Regions from separate parts of the Homo sapiens genome. Here region 1 is linked to region 2. The links are contacts of gene promoters, found by promoter capture Hi-C in blood cells and fetal thymus (Javierre and others, 2016). All regions are on one chromosome and are shown on one strand. The core of a region is centred on a gene start or on the middle of the fragment in contact, and the rest is flanking DNA. Distances in the headings are between cores, read along the strand shown.

Region 1 (7,029 bases), core at 868-3,367, 480 kb after region 2:
CATACCAATTACAGTGAGGGTGGGCAGGCAAGATATTGCAACAAGGATTTTTTGTGAGACAATTCTGTGAGACATGATTTGAAGTTCCTTTGGAAGAAAAAAAGTATTTGCTGATGACCTAGTAATTACTTTTATAGATTTTTAATGAAGTATGAAATACTTTGATAACTCATCCAAATAGAGTTCCTACCACATGTTATTTCTTAGTGGCCTTTATATATTGAGTAGCTGCAATTGTAGCTTTCAGTAAACTAGAGAAGTAGGAAAAATACAGAAGAGAAGTACTAAATGAGCTCTTAAATTTGAACAGTGTTCTAGTGAGTGGGAAAAAATGCCACAAGAAGCATGTACTGAAGATCTGCTATCTTTATTCTATCACTCAGTTGATTACAATTTATCTGAATGCCCATACCATCCGAAAGGAAATGTATATATTGACACCTCTTAATTATAAGCTTAAAAACCACTATTATGTGTTTAATAACTAGGATGTTTCTTTACTCAAATTTAGACATAGGTCAAATGTATGTTGTTGTTGTTGTCTATAGTATACCACAGTAAGATATGATGCCTAATTTTATATGTTTAAGTTGTATGATGGTTTATGGTTATATTTTGCTTTGTAACAGATGATTTTTTTTTCTTTGATGTTGTTGTCACCCAAGTTTTGGTTAGGAAGAGAACACTCAAATGACAACTTTGTTCCTCTTGGACCAACCTATTACCTGCTTTATCCCATGGGAAACACTTCCTATTTGAGGAGGGCAACCGAGGTTCTGCCAGGCAGAATCTCCCCATGATTCTAAGTTAATTGATGTCAGTAATTTCTTCCCATGTGCATATCACCTTGAAGTAAACTCTGATGGAAAGTAAGCATGTCATGTGATTCTTCTCTTCAGACATCAAAGAGACAGTACTCAAACATAGAAGTTTTTGGAAACTGAGACCCACTGACTATTGGAATCAGGCTCCTGTTACCTCTGTAGTGGAACTTCTCTGCACCCTTTCCTTGCCTAGTTAAGCAGTTCCAAAACAGCCCCAAACAGTTGGTGTCAATTTTCAGCCCTTAGGTAGCAACTTAGGAGCAGTTCAGACTGAGGGCTACTGTTAAGTAGTATGCCTTTCGGAAGGGGAAAACATTCTCTTCCTCTTCAGACTTCATTTCTGTACTTCTGGTTCTGCCTTGTCAAAAAGCATTCTATGTGACCTCATTGGTCTCTGAGGGGAAAAAAATGCTTCAACTCTCTATTACAACTTTAATTATAGGGGCTCTTTCCTGTCCCTGCCTTCCCTTTTCTGCATTTCTTGTACCGATTCGTCCCCACATGACACTAGAGGAACTGTGTTGTAGAAGATTGAGTTTGGCCTTGGAGCCAGAGAGACAAAGTTCACATCTCAATTCTAACATTTTAATTGACCTTGGGCAAGTAAGGACTCATTAAATGGTAGCTGCTAATAATTGTCATTATTGTCACTATCATCATTCTTCTCTTCTACCACTTTAGCCACCTATATGTGCCCTCTGACGCTATTAATATAACTATTTTGTCTTTTTCATCAAATGTTTGCTGAAATGTTGTTGTTGTTTTTGTTGTGTGTCTCATTATTTCCCTGGGATAAATATAAATTATTCACTACCTTAGTCTTATTTAAATATGTTACTTTTTCTTATAGTAATAACTGTCATATATATTAAACACCCAGAATTTTGGACAGCGTGCTTTACATGCATTATTCTATTTAATTATCAACAATTTATTTTGCACATGAATAAACTGAGTTTCAGAAAGATTAAATAACTTTAAGTTCAGGTTCATACCTTTGAATTCAAAGTCCTTGCTTCTCTATTCACCATTGCCTCCGGGGTGGTAATTAATACATTAACTATGATACTTTGACCACTGTCTTAATTTAAAAAGCAAAACTGCTTCTAGCATAAGATCTGTGCAGATAAGCAAGGGACAATATTGATTGTCCATTTAAAAAAAAGTCATTGGCCAGGCACAGTGGCTCTCACCTGTAATCCCAGCACTTTGGGAGTCCAAGACGGGCAGATTGCTTGAGCTCACAAGTTCAAGACTAGCCTGGGCAACATGGCAAAACCCCATCTCTACAAAAAAAATAGGAAAATTAGTTGGGCATGGTGGTGCGTGCCTATAGTCCCAGCTACTCGGGAGGCTGAGGTGGGGAGGATGTCTTCAGCCCAGGAGGCAGAGGTTGCAGAGAGCTGAGATCACTCCACTGCACTCCAGCCTGGGCAATAGAGCCAGATCTTATCTCAAAAAAAAAAAAAAAAAGTCATTAATAATTCAAAGAGCAGTCTGTTCACGAGGATCCAAGCTCTTGCCTGGTCATCTGTTCCACATGGTTTCACACAGATACTTTTCTAAGACTGTGAACATTTTCCAAAGTAAAGTAGTCTGTGTATTCAAGGAGTTATCACTGCCTTTCAACAGGCTCTAGACCCAAAATGGAACTAATTATATAGGGCTGACCACTAGTCTCCGTTTTGTCTAGAGGATACCATCCAGATAGTCCTCAATGGAGTGGCAACCAGGACTGACGATCCACTCCTTGGTGTATTCTAGCAGTAGCAGTAGGGAACCTCCAGAGGGAACTTGGCCTTCCTGTCTTTTGAAGTCAGTTATCTTAGCACCTGGTTCTGCCATGTATAAATTTGATTAATCATGAAAATAGATGTCTATATTTCAATTTAGAGGAATAATCCATCTTCTGTTCTAACATCTCTAATACAGGTTCTACTGTGTTCCTTCATCCCTGTCACCACTTTGTAATAGAAAATGTGCTTGGGGGAGAATAAGAAAAGGACTAGGAATGTCATTTTTATTCTCTTAAGCCTCCTCTTGTCTTCTCTTTCCCCTTTTTTCCTCTCTACCATGGGGTGGTGGGGAAAGCAACTAGTGAGGAATGGAAAGATAGAGACTAGGAGTAGCCATGTAGGAGACTGAGGAGTACAACGTGTTGAAGCTGGCCCAGGATGGCTAAGGAAATAATGTCCCAGCCTTTTGTAGGTACTTTTTCTCTATTTATCTGCTGTGATGGATCCAATATGCACTTGCCTTCTTCTGAGATTTCTAATATGGAAGCCAGTGAGTTAGCCAAGGAGTAGGGTGCATCATTTATATATTTGTGGTTTAAGGCTCAATGGGAGCTTAAGATTGCCATTTTAAGATCTCCTAGAATACAAGTTAGCACTGTTTTATAAGGAAAGGGTTCTCCCCTTACTTACCCATCAAAGTTAACAGTGTGGTTGTACAGGAGAAGAAAAACTTAAACATGGGATTCTATTTTTATACACTATTCATTGGCTTCTTTTTCTTACATATTCTATATTCATTCAGTGTATTTTTATTTGATGTCAGCTCGTGTCATGTTTATCTCTTTCTCCCAGACCTCTCTCCAGCACAGACTTCTAATACACAAATGCCCTTTCCATAGAGCACCATGGTATTGGAAAATTAATGTTAAGAAAAAAATTAATAATAAAAAGGAGACAAAATATTGGGAATTGGGGACTACTTAGAGAACTTTACAGGAATCTTCAAATTCTCTACTTCTTTAAAACATTTACTGTGGACCTAATATATCCAAAACATTCCTAGATGTGCTAAGTCAAGCCATTTAAAATGTCCAAATTTCTACTCTTTCTATATTCTTCATCTATTTCAATAAGTCCCATTTCTTTTTTTGGTTCTTTGGTGTAAGTTACTTGTTTTGTCCCTCAGTTGTGTGGCCTGATAAATTGGGAGCTATAGAATCAAGCTTTCCTTTTCCTCTCTCTATGAAGATAACACTCTCTTCTTGGTACCATTCAATAAATGAGATTGCAGTTGCCAATATAAATCTTGTTAGATAAATGGAAAGATAAACCACTTGTTAAATCCTGTCATCTTACTCCCTCTTTCATCACATATGTAGGTCTGGGTGTTAGGCTTTGGTTTTTAATTTAGCTGGTGTGTTGCTTCTAACTCTGCTCATTAGATACAAGAATTGTAAGTTAGGCTATTTTTCCAAAGTCTAAATTTGCCTCATTTCAGACTCAGTGTAGACATATGGAATTTTTCTGTCTTGTTATATTGATATTGAATTTAGACTGATTTCTCATTGCATTATTCTTCTGACCTCTGTTCTTTTGATACATAAGATAACCACTTAGTTTTCTCTTTACTGCAGAGTGTGTCATAGCCTATTTAATCGTTATTGTATTTTAAAGACACATAAACTTAGGTGTTATTTCAGAAAAATTCATTATCACATAAAAATAATTCATTTTAACTTTCCTATATGTCTGTTTATTGAATTTGGGGATAGTAGAGTTTAGTCATTTTCATGCCCTTACATGGTAATTCCTTTTTATTAAATCTTTATTTGATACTTCTATAATGCTCCACTGCCTTTGTATTCACAAAAAACTGCTAGAAAAGCAGTTTTAAGTTAACATTTGATTTGTTGCTTTGGGATGAGTGAATGTGCTTATAGATTCCTGTCATTCTAAAGCAAATAGTATATTGAATCTTCTCATCGTTCCTTATTTTATGTTGTTCTAAGGTACATTTTATATTGGAGGAAAAGGTTCACTGAACAGCCCATCACAGATTTTTGTAGTGTAATAAGAATTAATTCCACTGCTCCATTTGGTAAGTGTACATCTTGGCTACCATCTTTTCCCTACAGTATAAAAATTCAAAGGAATAATCTTACTGTCTTATATTAGAATTACTTTTACTTTCATGATAGATAAAATTAAATTGATGTGTTTATTTTGCCTAACTTGAATAAAGCTAAAACAGTTCTATGCCAAAGAGATCCTAATAGACACACACATCTGTATTTTTTAAGAAATAAGTCCTTCTGGGGAAAAAATGGTTAATATCTGTTTTCTTATTTGTTTTCCTAATCTCTCAACAGAAGAACAAGAGAATTATTTTTTGTTATGTGACGTTTTACCAGAAGATAGAATTCTTAGAGAAGAGCTTCAGAAACAGAGACTGGTAAGAATTGTTTTTAAAGGGTGAATAGTGTCTTGAAAATACATATAAATACATATAAAATCATATTGGTTTTTTTTTTTTTTACTTTTTGTTATGGAAACTTTCAAACATATGTAAAAGAGGAGACAATACAAAAAGGTCTTAAAACAAAAAAAAAGTATACACTTGACTGAAAATTAAAGCGTTTTATGTTAAAAATGCAGAGAGAATTTTTGGCTTTGTTTTGCTTCCTGGATTATCTCTAAAATAACAACAGAACTTACACATTTTAGTGTAATTTTAGCTGCCTGACACATGCTAGGGTTCAGTAGTCATGGAAAAATGCCCTCAGCTAAAATTGAGTTGAATTGATTAACCTTTTTTTCTCCCCTTTACTGGAATGTGCTATGCACTAGCATTTTTTTTATTTCCCTTTATGAATTAAGCATATGGTTTAATCTACATAGTAGCCTTTCTGGTTTTCAGGCTTAACCATAAGCAAGCTAATTTGAAAACCTCAGCATCTTTAGCCTTTAAAAAAGATAACAGCACATACAAGCATGAAAATTTTTATTTTATTTTATTTTCTTATTTTTATTTTATTTATTTATTTATTTATTTATTTTTTTTTTTTTTTTTTTTTTTTTTTTTTTTTGAGATGGAGTCTCGCTCTGTTGCCCAGGCTGGAGTGCAGTGGTGTGATCTCAGCTCACTGCAAGCTCCACCTCCTGGGCTCACACCATTCTCCTGCCTCAGCCTCCCGAGTAGCTGGGACTACAGGCACCTGCCACCACACCTGGCTAATTTTTTGTATTTTTAGTAGAGATGGGGTTTCACCGTATTAGCAAGGATGGTCTCGATCTCCTGACCTCATGATCTGCCCACCTCAGTCTCCCAAAGTGCTGAGATTACAGGCGGGAGCCACTGCACCCGGCTGAAAATTTTTATTTTCGTAAGTTAATCAGAAAGTAATTTTTTAAATTGTTACTTTTGTTTAAAAGTACATGGGTTCCCATTATTTGTGATTTAATCTCGACTATTACTTGAAGTTGACTTGCTGTTCCTTTAGTGATTTCTTGTAAGTCTTTCTTTTATCTTTGGACTTAGCTAAATATGTTATAAGAGAGAGAAATGATTTAAATATTTGTGCTATATCCTCAAGAGATCAAGGAGAAAAATAAATGCTATTTACCATAGTCATATAATTTAAGAAAGTCCCTGGAAGCATATTTTATTTTGTAGACATCCCAAATGATTATTTCTTCCAGTAGGGGAAGGTGATACCATTGGATGTTGATTTATATCTAAGAAAAGTTTTCCTGTACAACAACTGCAGTAAAGAAATAGGACTTCCTGAGTTTCTCTTCTCTCCTTATAGCAGTGTCTTATGAAATCTGCAAAACAAGGCTAAATTTACTATCATGTCTTATGGATGTTATTTGCGTGCACTTATTCATAATTTCCAATTTACATGAATTTTCTCACTGTTGCTAACAGTGGCCTTAAGAATGATCAAAAGATGTCATGATCCTAGTAGTCCTAAGGATTTATTTATAAGAACTCAAACCCTACTACTTCAGCCATTCTTGTTCTTTAGCATGCAGAATCTGTACGATGTGTCTGCAGATGGACTCAGGTCTCTAAAAATACCTACATATACTGCATTTAAGTTACCTTTTTTACTTTACAGTTTGATAGTGATACATTTAATGGAAGTGAGCATTATGCCAGCTTACAGAAACAAAAGAAGAATGAAAAGGCAATCAATCCATACATGCTCGTTGAATTTCTGCTTAAGTAGATGCCTATACAAAGAAGTACAAGAGTACAAGGCATAATCCATATCATACAAGAGTGTACGGTCTACTTAGAGAAGAAAGATAAATATGTATTCTTATCTTGGTAATAGAGATAATGATAAAATATCTTGCAGGGCTTATGAAGATTAAGTGACATGTAATATACTTAGAACACTACCTGGCACATAGAAGGCACTTAATAAATATTAGCCAATAAAAATAACAGTAATAATGCTGTG
Region 2 (6,669 bases), core at 2,711-5,210:
TAATATCACTGAGCTGTGGCCTGAAAAATAGTTAGAATGCACATTTATTTATATTTATTTTTATTTTTTTTTTGAGACAGAGTCTCGCTCTGTCCCCCATGCTGGAGTGCAATGGCGCGATCTTGGCTCACTGCAACCTCTGCCTCCCAGATTCAAGCAATTCTCCTGCCTCTGCCTTCCAAGTAGCTAGGATTACAGGCATATGCCACCACACCCAGCTAATTTTTATATTTTTAGCAGAGACGGGGTTTCGTCATGTTTGCCAGGCTGGTCTCGAACTCCTGACCTCACGTGATCCACCCACCTCAGCCTCCCAAAATGCTGGGATTACAGGTGTCAGCCACTGCACCCAACCAAGATGTACATTTTATTTGTATTTTACCACAATTAAAAAATGTTTTAAAACTAAATTTTAATTATATGAGCAGGATGATGTGTTCAGTGCTCTGTATGCACTGGAGACAGGTAGCATGACTTAAAGTTCCAGGCAAGAGCTCAAAGCCTTTCTGTCCCCAGGATCTACTGCTGTCTCACAAGGGAAGAAGAGAAGCCCTGCCTTGTTGACCTGTGGAGGACTATTTGTTGTCTTTGGACAACAAAACCTTTTGATTTTATTTCTATGTTCCCAACCAGACCTCATAGAACTAGGGCTGAAGCATGAACTAGCAGAGCCACGGATTCATTCCTGTAGACATAAAAATGGGTGCTCATGGCCCTGCTTGCAAAAACTCCAAGACTGAGGCGACAGCAGAAGAGAAGTTAGAACTCGCTTCCTCCAGTTGTGTGAACTACAAATGTACTAAAGGATCCAAATATTTACTAATTCAGAACAAAGGTTAAACTTTCTTAATGTAAATAATCATTATAAAAGCACATTTAATACTACAGACAAGTTGTTATGTAATTTTAGAATTATAAAATATTTCAAGCACACACAACTAAATGTCTGTTAGATGATTTATGGTTAAAAATAACACTGTAAACATAAGCAGTTCTAGGTCTCATAGGGTTGAAAAATTGCTCACAGGTTGCTAAGGGATATAATGATCAGATTTTAAAATCCTACAGCTTTAAGTTTAAAAGCAGACAAGTCACTGAATTACATGTGTCTTTCCCCTCCGTGTCCTCAGTGGAATGGAAAAAAACAACATGTTTCTAGCATATGGAAGAATTTCAACACTTCAGAGGTAAACATCAATGACCAAATCTGATTTAAAAGTATTATCCAGCAAAATGTGTATTTCTAAATTAGACCAACTAGACAGTTTCAAGTGGAAAAAAGTATATTAAGTGGCCTTGGGCATTTCCTCCCTTCATCTTATTTTCTAAAAGTTAGTGCATTTTGTATCTATTAAAAATATTGAGGATCTTGATTTATGAAATCATAAAAGCTTACTAGCTTTACTAAAACATGATGATGTTGTCTTTGTCAAGCTTTGTCATAGTTCAAACTAAATTGGACAAAATTTTAAAATATAAGATTTGAAAACTAAGATTTTAATAGGTGTGGACCATTTTTTCTTATGTCCTCCAAAATACTTGCATATATCCAGTGCTTCATAAACTTAGTCAAATTGAATTTACTGGACTGTTACATTAAAACATGGCAAATTTATAATTACCTGAATAAATTCTCTTACAGCATTCAAATTCTCAACATGACATATTTATAAGTAAACCAAATGATAACTAATGTACTTTGATATTCCTAAGTAACAAGCTGACTTAAGGCCTATAAGGGGTATCAAAATGTCACTCTGAATACTTAATTATTCTTCTCCTCATTTTATAAAAATATATGTTGGAAGAGAGGCTTTAACATTTCTGAATTTTTTCCAATTCTAGCTATTGCACAACAGCAACAAACTTTAAAATTCACCTAATATTTGGGAAGTCTTTGCAAAGTCTAGACACAACTCTTGGGAAATAATGCAGCAACCAAGGAATGAAGTAAAAATTTACGCTGACCCTACGCTTGAACCACGTCATGCTGGGAATCTGTAAGTTGAGTATAAAGGAGGAGCCTTTTCTAACAGCGTCTTAGGATTGTGCTAGAGCTAAGTCTTTATGGCTGTAACAACAAAGAAAGAGGATAAACTAAAGCAGTGCTTTTCAGTTTTTAGCTAAGTACATAAGAATCACCTGGAAAACTTGCTAAAACAGACTGCTGTGCCCCAATCCCAGAGATTGTGTTTCAGTAGGTCTAAGGTGGAGTGAGAGATTTTGCATTTCTTACAAGCTTCCAAGGATGCTGATGCTACAGTATAACAAAATACTGCATTATAGGTATTGATATGCTCCAGAAATTTTCCATATTCTCTAGATCTCTGAGAAAAACAGAGAAGCAATTTAACATAAAAACCAGAGAGGCAGAAATAGTTTCATTTTAGAAGAAAGACAAAATACAGGATAAAAGTTTATGAAGTATACAGTGACATGTTTAGGGAGATTACATGTGACAGCTTTATTTAGCAGCCCAAGGGTCATGGGCCTAAATGCATAGCTATTATGGTTTGGATACAGGTTTATGTGGAAATAACCATAGATGGCAATGCTGAGATGTATCTAGAACAGAAACTGGTCATTCTTTTTTAACATTCTTGTAACCGAACAGAATCTGTCCTGCTCTCATAATTTGAGCCCAGAAAAGAGCTTACACAACCACAAGTGCATTCAAACAGATTCAATGCAGCATTCTTTCAAAAACATCTTGCTAAATTAATGTCGAATGCAATATGGACACTACAAGGGCCTTGATCTTCTTTAGGAAAAACAAGGACACAAAGAATCAATGAAACCTGAAAACACTGAAGACTAAGAAGAGCAGTCTCCAAATAAGAAAACTATTTTTGAGCTGCAACTAAAGACAGACCATGATATCTTCTGGCTGGCCTTACATAGTTGAAGGTTGTTTTCAAGATGATAACTCTTTTTTTTTTTTTTTTGAGTCAGAGTCTCACTCTGTCACCCAGGCTGATGGAGTGCAATGGAGCGATCTTGGTTCACTGCAACCTCCACCTCCCAGGTTCAAGTGATTCTCCTGCCTCAGCCTCCCAAGTAGCTGAGATTACAGGCACCCCCCCACCACGCCTGGCTAATTTTTGTATTTTTAGTAAAGACAGGGTTTCACCATGTTGGCCAGGCTAGTCTCAAACTCCTGACCTCAAGTGATCTGCCCGCTCCAGGCTCCCAAAGTGCTGGGATTACAGGCATGAGCCATTGCTCCCAGCTTCATTATTTTTTTTTATTTTTTATTTTTTCTGAAATCACCAGCAAGCATTGAACACTGGGCTTAATTATATATACCAAGGCTCCCTCAAGTTGTTATGTATATTTGAGGAATATACATACCCTATTAAAAAAAAATCACCCTGTAATGATCCTGGTCAAAAATCAGTCTGTTAACATGAGTGGAAGTAAAACAATAATGGTTCTATTTTCATTCACAGAAAATAAATCCTTCCAATCTCCAAGTTGTACTTGGATAAGCCCAAGAGAAAAGATATTTTCAGGTCATTACGTATTCAACTCAAATAGGTCAATCATTTTAATAAATCAAAGAGGAGCATTAAGATGCAGTAATAGTAAATGAATACTAAAAACCTGCATAGTTAACATACCAAATGAAATAACTTATAAATCTCTAGAAAGGGACCCTATGCCAATGAATTTTAAAACAATTTGTTTTCCAAATATTACTGTTTTCTATGCAACCAGATCTGTACCATCAATTTTCTGGAATAATATACTCTATCTGCTATAGCAGATTAACAAAATTGGATCCAACAGTTTCTTAGCAACTGCAGATGCTTTTAAAATCCTTTGGCTATACTCTTTATGATATAGGACAATGGTCTCAAGTTTTTAAGAGTAGTGACGTTCAAGTCAATGTTTCATGAAGTTTAACCTAAATTTATTATGATTCATAGCTTCAACTCAGAGTTCTAGAAATTTTGAGTTGTTACAGTTCCAAATTCTGAAAGGTTGCCTCATCGCTGGAAATATGTGTAATGTTGGAGCAATGCTAGATTATAAAATTTATCGTTAATTAATAATGAAACACACAAAGGTAAGGTGACTTTTCTTAGAGACCAATTTAAAGAATTTGTTGTAACCTCATTCAATGCCAAAGTGTCAATTACTTTCTATAGATGTTTATTGATTTAGACATTTGGTTTCACATGGTGTCACTGGTAAATTGCCTTTCTTCATTTGTACACTTCAAGGTACAGCGAGGAGCTGTATAGTAGATGTGGCTTCTCTTTTCCTCACTTACCTAGGTTTTGCCACATGCTGAAAATTTCACAACCCATTGTTACCCGCATGTCACCATACCTGAAATAGAACAAAAAACCAAACCTGATACAATGCCTCCAGAACAAGGAAGTATTTGTGTGTCTTTAGGATACAATCTATCATTCTGAATTACAAGGCAAGGAGTTTTTAATTAAAGACATTTAATATACATGTCACGATGCCTCTAAGTCAAATTCTGGTGTAAACCTTTTAGTAAAAGAGATCTGTTTCATAATTTTTTGCATCTATAGAAATTTTGAATCCTGAAAGAGCCAGGTCAAAACAATGTGCAAACATGTTTGAAATATCAAAACATCCAGAAAAGACTGCTTCTTGACCCCTTGGTCACTGGTTCTTCACTGTGTGATTTCCAGTTATGCGCATTCTGATTTATGAATCATTTGAACTAAATACTCTTTAAGAGGCAACATTTCTCACCTGATTATACACTGATACTTACTTTTCTAACACCTTTTTCTTCTTGGAAGGTGTGAACATCTCCAACTGCAGACACAACTGGTTTATAAAAATGACTGCGAGGTAAAAGTAGGAATCCCAGATCTAAAACAAGAACAAGATATATCAATACTATGGTGTTACAAGCATATTGACAGGTGAAGTGACATAGTATTTTGGATTTGCTTCAAAAGTGGTTGAGGGTATAGTTGAAGTAAGACTGACCATGAGTTGATAATAGTTGAAGCTGGATATGGGTACCTCATGGGGGTTCATTATACTATTCTCTCTACTTGTACATATGCTTAAAATTTTCTAAAGTGAAGAAGTAACTAAATAAATAAGTACTATTATTATCTAGGTGTATATTGCTCCAAAGCTGTATTCCAGGTTTCACGAGCTTTTTGGTATATGCTAAAAGACAGATGCGTGGTTTCTCTTGTAATATGTCTGAGTATCTCCAAGAGGATGAGGTATAAGATGGATTTCTTTATTCCTGTGTGAGTTCATTTTTGGAACTCCTTTTAACGTAGAACTTGTAAAAAATGCATACACTTCTTCAGATATGCTAATTGCTTTAAATTCAGACATTATATAAAAATTCCCTGCCCAGGCAAATCTTTTAAGTTTTCTTATACCAAAAAACAGAATCAGAAAGAGATCTGAATAAAGTTCCCTGAAATAAACTTAGCAAAAAAAAAAAAGGACATAATGGAAGGAACACACTTCTCCACTGACACCATGTAAAATTAAAGACATAACAAACCAGGAGACATATGACACAGAATCAGTATCTGTTATACGTAAATAGCTCTTACAAATAAAAAAGAATATAATAAAACCCTAAGTAAAATAATGAATAAAAGTCAAGAACAGTCCAGGTGCGGTGGCTCATGCCTGTAATCCCAGCACTTTGGGAGGCCGAGGCGGGTGGATCACAAGGTCAGGAGTTCGAGACCAGCCTGGCCAATATGGTGAAACCCCGTCTATCCTAAGAATACAAAAATTAGCCAGGTGTGGTGGTGCGCTCCTGTGGTCCCAGCTACTCAGTAGGCTGAGGCAGAAGAATTGCTTCAACCTGGGGGGCAGAGGTTGCAGTGAGCCGAGATTGCGCCACTGCACTCCAGACTGGGCGACAGAGGGAGATTCTGTCTCAAAACAAAAAAAAGAAAAAAAAAAGTCAAGAATAGACAATTCACAAAAATATGAATTTTGATCAATAACTAGTAACTAGTCAATAAGTAATAATTAGTGAGAAATGTAAATTAAAGCAAACAGGATTTTTCTCTTTATCTGTCAGAAAAAAAATCTCTTCTAATGTTGGTGTAGCTGCAGGAAAAGAAGCAATCAAATGTAATTGGTACAACCTTTCACTCAACAATTCCACTAATAAATATTTATCCAAAGAAATAATTAAGGGCCAGGCGCGGTGACTCATGCCTGTAATCCCAACACTTTGGGAGGCTGAGGCAGGCAGATTACCTGAGGTCAGGAGTTCAAGGCCAGCCTGGCGAACATGGCAAAACCCCATACTACTACTAAAAATAAAAAAAAAATTAGCCAGGCATGGTGGTGTGTGCCTGTAATCCCAGCTATTCTAGAGGCTGAGGCAAGAGAATCGCTTGAACCTGGGAGGCGGAGGTGGCAGTGAGCCGAGACTGCGTCACTGCATTCCAGCCTGGGCAACAGAGCAGGACTCTGTCTCAAAAACAAAACAAAACAAAACAAAACCAGAAACAAAAAAAGAACCAAAGAAATAATTAGGGATATATGCCAAGTTTTATTTTACAAGAATGTACATAAAATGAGTAATTTATAAGAATGAAATATGAAATTTTGATATACTATAAGCTATGACATAGACAAATATTATGTAACTATTAAAATTCCTTTTTTATTGTATTTGTCCTTTTTTGT

What was found. Contacts are between HindIII fragments. The CHiCAGO score rates a contact against its expected background, and 5 or more counts as called.
Region 1: a contact is called between a fragment that was not itself captured here and the fragment with the promoter of DOCK4-AS1 in region 2, in 1 of 17 cell types (M0 macrophages). The highest score is 5.4, in M0 macrophages.

What each region holds. Positions count from the first base shown.
Region 1 is chr7:112,291,300-112,298,328 of GRCh38, forward strand. It overlaps ZNF277 (zinc finger protein 277), which reads left to right. Exons shown (of 12, transcript NM_021994.3): 3 at 4,570-4,658; 4 at 4,930-5,012. Among named protein-coding and RNA genes, the nearest start is that of ZNF277-AS1, 56 kb to the right of the region's middle. The HindIII fragment of the contact is 3,328 bases long and covers 454-3,781 here.
Region 2 is chr7:111,804,545-111,811,213 of GRCh38, forward strand. DOCK4-AS1 (DOCK4 antisense RNA 1) reads left to right here and starts at 3,961. Exons shown (of 2, transcript NR_103806.1): 1 at 3,961-4,069. It overlaps DOCK4 (dedicator of cytokinesis 4), which reads right to left. Exons shown (of 53, transcript NM_001363540.2): 29 at 4,757-4,857; 30 at 4,277-4,335. The HindIII fragment of the contact is 9,376 bases long and covers 2,238-6,669 here.